Linked DNA regions of Homo sapiens: region 1 is linked to region 2. Evidence: promoter capture Hi-C in 16 types of primary human blood cells and fetal thymus (Javierre and others, 2016). All regions are on one chromosome and are shown on one strand. Each heading gives the region's core, a stretch centred on a gene start or on the middle of the fragment in contact. The rest is flanking DNA. Distances are from core to core; before and after follow the strand shown. Region 1 overlaps ZNF136 (zinc finger protein 136). Region 2 holds the start of ZNF699 (zinc finger protein 699).

What was found. The method cuts DNA at HindIII sites, captures the fragments that hold promoters and counts their contacts. A CHiCAGO score of 5 or more calls a contact.
Region 1: a fragment that was not itself captured here is called in contact with the fragment with the promoter of ZNF699 in region 2 in 1 of 17 cell types (monocytes); the score reaches 6.6 in monocytes.

Annotation. Positions count from the first base shown.
Region 1 is chr19:12,183,358-12,187,914 of GRCh38, forward strand. It overlaps ZNF136 (zinc finger protein 136), which reads left to right. Exons shown (of 4, transcript NM_003437.5): 2 at 2,428-2,554; 3 at 2,757-2,817; 4 at 3,213-4,557. Among named protein-coding and RNA genes, the nearest start is that of ZNF136, 23 kb to the left of the region's middle. The HindIII fragment of the contact is 722 bases long and covers 2,908-3,629 here.
Region 2 is chr19:9,307,475-9,311,610 of GRCh38, forward strand. It overlaps ZNF699 (zinc finger protein 699), which reads right to left and starts at 2,364. Exons shown (of 6, transcript NM_198535.3): 1 at 1,876-2,364. RefSeq lists a silencer at 2,034-2,283 and an enhancer at 2,344-2,463. The HindIII fragment of the contact is 15,955 bases long and covers 1-4,136 here.

The DNA.
Region 1 (4,557 bases), core at 2,019-4,518, 2.9 Mb after region 2:
TCTCCTGAGCTCAAGTGATCCTCCTACCTTGGCCTCCCGAAGTGCTGGGATTTTAGGCGTGAGCCACCACTCCCAGCTCCTTTTTTGTGATTTCAAATAGAATCCTAGAGTGTAGCCTTGAGAAGGCTACAGGGAGAAAAAGCTCAGAGAAATAGGGAGAATCACTCTTCATTATGGCTTCACATAACTGAATCTATCTATCTATCTATCTATCTATCTATCTATCTATCTATCTATCTATCTATCTATGTTTATCTTGAGACAGGGTCTTCCTCTTTTGCCCAGGTTGGAGTGCATTGGCACCCATCATAGCTTGCTGCATTCTCATACTCCTGGTCTCAAGCAGTCCTCTCACCTCAGCCTCCTGAGTAGCTGGGACTACAGGCGTGCACCACCACTGCTGGCTAATTTTTAAATTTTTCTGTAGAGATGGAGGTTCTCACTGTGTTGCCTAAACTGATGTTGAATTCCTGGGCTCAAACAATCCTTCTGCCTCAACCTCCCAATGTGATGGAATTACAGGTGTGAGCCAGTTCACCCGGCCACTGATACATTTTGATGAGAAAGTAGGTAGATAAATTGGTGAATTCACCAATTTATTTTCACCAATTTAGTGAAGATTCATCAAGCTGGGTGTGGTGGCTCACGCCTGTAATCCCAGCACTTCGGGAGGCCAAGGCTGGCAGATACTTGCGGTCAGGAGTTTGGGTCCAGCCTGGCCAACATGGTGAAACCCCATCTCTATTAAACATACAAAAATTAGCTGGGTGTGGTGGCACGTGCCTGTACTCCCACCTCCTCGGGAGGTTGAGGCGGGATAATCCCTTGAGCCTGGGAGGCAGAGGTTGCAGTGACCCAAGACCCTGCCACTGCACTCCAGCCTGGGCGACAGAGCAAGACTCCATCCAAAAAAAAAAAGAGGGCTGGGTGTGGTGGCTCACGCCTGTAATCCCAGCACTTTGGGAGGCCGAGGTGGGCAGATCACGAGGTCAGGAGATTGAGACCATCCTGGCTAACATGGTGAAACCCTGTCTGTACTAAAAAATACAAAAAATTAGTCAGGCGTGGTGGCAGGTGCCTGTAGTCCCAGCTACTCAGGAGGCTGAGGCAGGAGAATGGCATGAACCCGGGAAGCGGAGCTTGCAGTGAGCCGAGATCACGCCGCTCCAGCCTGGGCAACAGAGAGCCAGACTCCGTCTAAAAAAAAAAAAAAAAAGGTAAAAAATCCTTCATTAGTCTCATTTAGTACTTAATTATATTTGATCTGCAGGATAGGTACAAGCTTGCAAGTATTCTCTCTTAGTATAATAACAGAAGATGGGCTTAATTTTCCCAGTAACCAATTGTGAGAACACATGCGAAATGCTTCCTGGAGTGTTTCTGGGGGCTCATCAGGTGGGCACTATGTGTTGCGCGTGTAACAAATTCCCAAACTCTCAGAAGGTGGGACGCCAGAAATTTTCATATTTTTTCCATAAAGAGTTTAGGCACCGAGCTACTCTTACATAGGTCATTGGGCTCCTTCCCCAAATCCGTTTCCCAGATACCAGGAATGGATGTGATGCAGGACAGGTGCGCCCTAAAATTGGGGCTTATCCCAGGATGGTTTCCAGCTTTGCCCAGGGAAGAATTCAAGGGCAGGCCAGTGGTGTTAGATAACAGTGTTTTATTTAACAGTACTGGTCTTTGTGGATCAGTGCTAACTCATAGGCAGTACACCCAGAGTCAGCAACATATGGTCTCTTGGCAACTATATTTATACCCACTTTCAATTATATGCAAATTAAGTGGTGGGTTATTTAAAACTTTCTAAGGAAGGAATGATAACTTTCAGGTCATTGCCATGGCATTTGTAAGCTGTCATAGCATTGGTGGGAGTGTTTTATGCTAATGAGCAGTGAGAGCATCTAGAGATCGCTGTTCTTGTCGTCTGCTGGTTTTGGCCCCTTTCTTTACTTTATCCTACCTGTGCCAGATCTTGTTTTGGCCAGTAGGGTTGTGATCAGAATACAAGTCCTGTTGGTCTCCTACCTCAGATGAATGTTGTGAGGAGTGAGGAGCCTTTTTTTAAGGGTAAGCAGTCTCAGGACTGCTAATATAAACTCTTTTGCATAGTAGGTGGTAGGACTTCGTTATGACAGGTTCTACAGGTCCACTGTATGAGCAGACATTAGCTGGGACTCAGGCAGCACGTATTACTCCTTGCAACCACCACCAAGAAAGATGATCAGACACTGCTATTGTTCTACCCGATAGTTCCATTCTAGTATGAGAGTTGCTGTGTGGAAGGAAGTGAGTATGATGACCAAACAGTGGAGTAAATGTTTGCAGACCCCTGAAACATGTGAACTTCTTATGAATTGAGTACAGCTCCCCAGCCCTGTCTGTCTCACCCATTCTCCTCTCCACATATGTGGGATGTTTCAGGACTCGGTGGCTTTTGAGGATGTAGATGTGAACTTCACCCAGGAGGAGTGGGCTTTGCTAGATCCTTCCCAGAAGAATCTCTACAGAGATGTGATGTGGGAAACCATGAGGAATCTGGCCTCTATAGGTAAGGATTGTATACTTCCATCACTTAGCAATTAAAGAAGAAGTGCTTCTTGTGCAGTGATGCTGTTCCATGGTTTGCATCATGGAGGGAGAGTACTTGGGGGGCTAAAACAGGCATAGTCACAGGGTATCATGAACCTAGAATCTAATAATTTTTCTATAATTTTGCACTAATTCAGAATTTTTCTGGGTCTCTGTTTTAGGGAAAAAATGGAAGGACCAGAACATTAAAGATCACTACAAACACCGAGGGAGAAATCTAAGGTAATTTGTACTCAGAGAAAGCAAATTCACTTGAAAGTACCTTAGCATGTCATGAAATTTTAAAAACAGGCAAACATAACTGATAAGCCAAGCTTCAAATTGATTTATTTTTTGAATATTTTCCCCAAATACATATTCTTCAGTGTAAACAGATGTTCAGTTTTTATAAAAATGTTCATTTGTCAACAGAATTAAGAAACTATTTAAGAATATCACTGTTTGAGTGATAGTTGCGGTCAAGCCCATTGCAGAGCATTGAATTCATTCATGCTCAAACAAATCAGACTTGGCATCGAGTCTACGCTTTACCTGATAATATTGAAAATGCAAGTTTAATAGCTATTAATATAAAATGATTAACAAATCCTTAGTAATGTCCGTCTCATTTTTTACAGAAGTCATATGTTAGAAAGACTCTATCAAACTAAGGATGGTAGTCAGCGTGGAGGAATTTTTAGCCAGTTTGCAAATCAGAATCTGAGCAAGAAAATCCCTGGAGTGAAACTCTGTGAAAGCATTGTATATGGAGAAGTCAGCATGGGTCAGTCATCCCTTAATAGACACATCAAAGATCACAGTGGACATGAACCAAAGGAATATCAGGAATATGGAGAGAAGCCAGATACACGTAACCAGTGTTGGAAACCCTTCAGTTCTCACCACTCCTTTCGAACACATGAGATAATTCACACTGGAGAGAAACTCTATGATTGTAAGGAATGTGGAAAAACCTTCTTTTCTCTCAAAAGAATTAGAAGACACATCATCACACACAGTGGATATACACCATATAAATGTAAGGTGTGTGGGAAAGCTTTTGATTATCCCAGTAGATTTCGAACACATGAAAGAAGTCACACTGGAGAGAAACCCTATGAATGTCAGGAATGTGGAAAAGCCTTCACTTGTATCACAAGTGTTCGAAGACACATGATAAAGCACACTGGAGATGGACCTTATAAATGTAAGGTATGTGGGAAACCCTTTCATTCTCTGAGTTCATTTCAAGTGCATGAAAGAATTCACACTGGAGAAAAACCCTTTAAATGTAAGCAATGTGGTAAAGCCTTCAGTTGTTCCCCAACCTTACGAATACATGAAAGAACCCATACTGGAGAGAAACCTTATGAATGCAAGCAGTGTGGGAAGGCCTTCAGTTATCTCCCCTCCCTTCGACTACATGAAAGAATTCACACTGGTGAGAAACCCTTCGTATGTAAACAATGTGGTAAAGCCTTTAGATCTGCCAGTACCTTTCAAATACATGAAAGGACTCACACTGGAGAAAAACCTTATGAATGTAAGGAATGTGGGGAAGCATTCAGTTGTATCCCAAGTATGCGAAGACACATGATAAAACATACTGGAGAAGGACCTTATAAATGTAAGGTATGTGGGAAACCCTTTCATTCTCTGAGTCCATTTCGAATACATGAAAGAACTCACACTGGAGAGAAACCTTATGTATGTAAACATTGTGGTAAAGCTTTCGTTTCTTCAACATCAATTCGAATACATGAAAGAACTCATACTGGAGAGAAACCCTATGAGTGTAAGCAATGTGGGAAAGCCTTCAGTTATCTCAACTCCTTTCGAACACATGAAATGATTCACACTGGTGAGAAACCCTTTGAATGTAAGCGATGTGGTAAAGCCTTTAGATCTTCTAGTTCCTTTCGACTACATGAAAGGACTCACACTGGACAGAAACCCTATCATTGCAAGGAATGTGGGAAAGCC
Region 2 (4,136 bases), core at 1,114-3,613:
ATGTAGCACATTATAGGGATAAGGAGACACGTAACATATTTATCTTTAGCAAGTCAGGACAGGTAATGTGGCAGGGTAGAAGCAGAAAATTAAAATAACTATTTCAGATCATGCTGGAATTTCAGAGGGTTTAGTATATCTATTATATATTTATAAGCATTATCAACTCCTAGAGGAAAAAAAATCAGTACTGGCCAGGCACGGTGGCTCACACCTGTAATCCCAGCACTTTGGGAGGCCAAGGTGGGTGGATCACAAGGTCAGGAGTTCAAGACCAGCCTGGCCAAGATGGTGAAACCCACCTCTACTAAAAATACAAAAAAATTAGCTGGGCATGGTGGCAGGTGCCTGTAATCGCCACTACTTGGGAGGCTGAGGCAGAGAATTGTTTGAACCCAGGAGGCAGAGGTTGCAGTGAGCCAAGATCACGCCACTGCACTCCAGCCTGGGAGACACAGCGAGACTCTGTCTCAAAAAAAAAAAAAAAAATCGGTATTAATAGGCTAGACTATTGATATATAAAGTTGAATAAAGACCAGCATAAAAGTTTAGAAAGAAAATAGAAAATAATCTTTTTTAAAACATAGTAAACAAAATCAGAAAAGCTAAAAAAGCATCCTTTGCAAAAAGAAAAACTAATGAAACTGACAAACTCAGCTTTTTAAAAAAATTTTTTAATTTAATTTATTGTTTAAGACAGACTCTTTATGTTCCCAGGTTGATCTCATTTCCTAGGCTCAAGCGATCCATCTGCCTTAGCTTCCCACCAGCTGGGACTACAGATATGCGCCACTGCAGCCAGCAACAGACTCAGCAATTTTAAGAGCAACAGGGCATAAACAACAACAACAAAAAAAAAATGAACAAGAATTAATCATAATTACAGATATCATAAGGAGAATATAGAAAAAATTTAAGGAATAAATATGAAGATGCACAGGTAATTAATGAATTTCTAGAAAGTAGTACAACTTTCAAGCAGTGATCTAAAACCTGATTACACCCAGTAATTAAAGAAAAAAAAATCAGCGGTTTAAAACACGGTCAGGCCGGGTGCAGTGGCTCATGCCTGTAATTCCAGCACTTTGGGAGGCGGAGAGCCCATGAGTTCGAGACCTGCCCGGGCAACAGAGCGAGACTCCTATTTTCTAAAAAGAAATAGGAATAAAGAAAGGAAAAAAACCTACAAACACCTACAGCAAACATCCTATTTAATGGTGAAATGATAGAATAATTCCCTCTGGAATCAGAAACAAGACAGGATGTAAATTACATGCTATTCTGTCGGACATTGTACTGGAGGTCCTGGCAAGTGCAGTAAAGAAATGAAAAGAAATGGAAACTGCAAGGAATAAAAAGGGAAAAGATTGAAACTGACAGATGACCAAATTTTCTGTGTGAAATTTAACCAATCTATAGACAAATGATTCAAATGCATCATTAATGACAAAATGCATCAGTTCACTTTCACTTGAATATAATGTATCAAACTGATGTCCACAGGCAGAATATAATATCCAGAGACCAAATACTATCTTTTTGTTTTTTTGAGACAGTGTCTCGCTCTGTTGCCCAGGCTGGAGTGCAGTGATGCGATCTCAGCTCACTGCAACCTCTGCCTCCCGAGTAGCTGGGAACACAGGAGAGCACCTTTTATTTTACTTTTTTTTTTTTTTTTTTTTTTGGTAGAGACGGGATCTTGCTATGTTGCCCAGGCTGGCCTCAAACTCCTGGGCTCAAGCGATCCGCCCGCCTCGGCCGCCCAAAGTGCTGGGATTACAGGCGTGAACCACCGCGCTTGGCCCAAACACTACCTAATGCATAAAGAGGGGACAGGAGGGGACCGAGCCGAGGCAAATGTCACCCCGTGCTCACCCGACACGCCGCGATCCACAGATCAGCTCACAGAGAACGAGGCTGAAGCGCTTGTCCTTGAGACACGAATGGCAGAGATGCTCTTCCTTTCTGGAAAGAGAGCAAAGGATGCTTTCGGAGGCTGATGAACTACGACATTGGTTCTCCAACTCTCGCCTGCATCAGAATCACCCCGATTTCTGTACCCAGACCAGAGTTCCCGATTCAGTGAGTTTGGGACCAGCCGCGGCCACAGGGGCAGCTGACCCGGGCTCTCTGAGGAGGCGCCGCGGCGGCGGGAGGCCCCGGGCGCGGGGTCCGGACAAGGAGTGGCGGGGAGGCAGCCCTTAGACCGCCGATTCCCAAACCCAGCCCTCGGTCTCCCGCGGACCCGACCCGGGGCAGGCAGGGCGGGGCGGGGCAGGGCAGGACAGGAAGCGGGCGGAGGCAAAAATGTTCCTCAGACGCGGGCGGAGGCGTAGGGTGACAAGGCTGTCGACTCGCGCATGCGCAGAAGCACACTTCTGATTCCTCTTTCGGCGCTGCAAATGGCGTATGGGGCGGGGCCTGGGAAGCGGGACTTGAGGTGAAGGGGGTGGAGCAGGTAGGAGCGGGATGCAAAGGAGCGCCAAGGCTGGTTCCAGCCGCAAGTGGATGAGAAATCCTAGTTTCTTCATGATTTGGAGTAAACAGAGAAGAAACAGAACCCTGAACTGGACTTGCATGACTCGGCCTGAGGGGCGGAACTGGGGCTAGACCTAGGGGCGTGGCCTTTTAAATACTCCAAGGGGCGGGGCTAAAGGTGGAACCAGATTGGGAGCGGGGCTTGGTAGAAATTCCTAGGGGGCGGAGACGAGGGCTGGGCGGGGCTTAAGTGACAAGGCCTAGGGATGGGGCTAAGGCTAGGGCTTCCCATCCAGGTTCTCAGCTACCACGGATACAGGATGCTCATCGATCGGGTTTCTACCTATCCTCCACGTTGCTACAGTCCTGTACACAGGACACATATATTTGCAGCTCTAATAGGAAACAGACTCTCCTTGACACTCACTCAGTCCTTTTGGGCCTTTTAGTTTTCCCTTTCATTGTTGTATTGATAACTTCTCCTGTAGAGGGAAGCCATTGATAATTATTTAAATAGAACCTTTTTCCTGGAAACTTGCTGAATTCTGATAGCTGTCAGTTTATTATTTGAACCATCAAATATAAATATTTTCTCTGCATATTTTCATTGTTTTAATGTGTATAACTCATTTCTTTATGTGAGGCAATGTCTCATTCTATCGCCTAGACTGGAGTGCAGTGGCGCGACCATGGCTCACTGCAGCCTTGACTTCCCCAGCTCAAGTGATGGTCCCATCTCAGCCCCCCAAGTAGCTGAGAATACAGTCGCGTACCACCCCACCCAGCTATTTTCTTTATTTTTTTGTAGAGATGGGATCGCACTATGTTGCTGAAGCTGGTCTCAAACTCCTGAGCTCAAGCTATCCTCTCACCTCAGCCTCCCAGAGTGCTAGGGGTACAGGTGTAAGCCACCACACCCAGAGTCATTTCTTTTTCTTATTGTTTGTTTAGGGCTTCCTCAACTATAAGTCGGAAAGAAATTAAGCATTCTTGTCTTGGTCGGTAATGATTACCAAAGTTCCTCAGTAAGCTGTTTACAACAGGTTGCACCTCTTATCAAGTTAATCTTTTTAAACCAGGTTTATAAAGATATTTTATCAATAATTTTTTATGAACACTATCAAATGTTTATGCAACAATTGAGTTGATAACATAATTTTGCTCCTCTTAGTTTATAATATGATATCCATATAAAATATTTAATTTTAGGCAAGGCGCAGTGGCTCATGCCTGTAATCCCAGCACTTTGGGAGGCCGAGGCCGGTGGATTACCTGAGGTCAGGTGTTCAAGACCAGCCTGGCTACCATGGTGAAACCCCATCTCTACTAAAAATACAAAAAATTAGCTGGGCATGGTGGCGGGTGCCTGTAATCCCAGCTACTCAGGAGGCTGAGGCAAGGAGAATCGCTTGAACCTGGGAGGCAGAGGTTGCAGTGAGCTGAGATCGCGCCATTGCACTCCAGCCTGGGCGACAATAGAAAGACTCCATCTCAAAAATATATATATTCAATTTTATATATCCCCAATGAATCTATACTTTTAGTAAAATGGTTTCTGAGTTTCCTAGTTTGCTTTTAAATGTCTCCCCAAACTCTAAAATATAAAAATACTTCCTAATTTACTTCCAAATTGTACTGCTTTTTAAAACGTATAATTC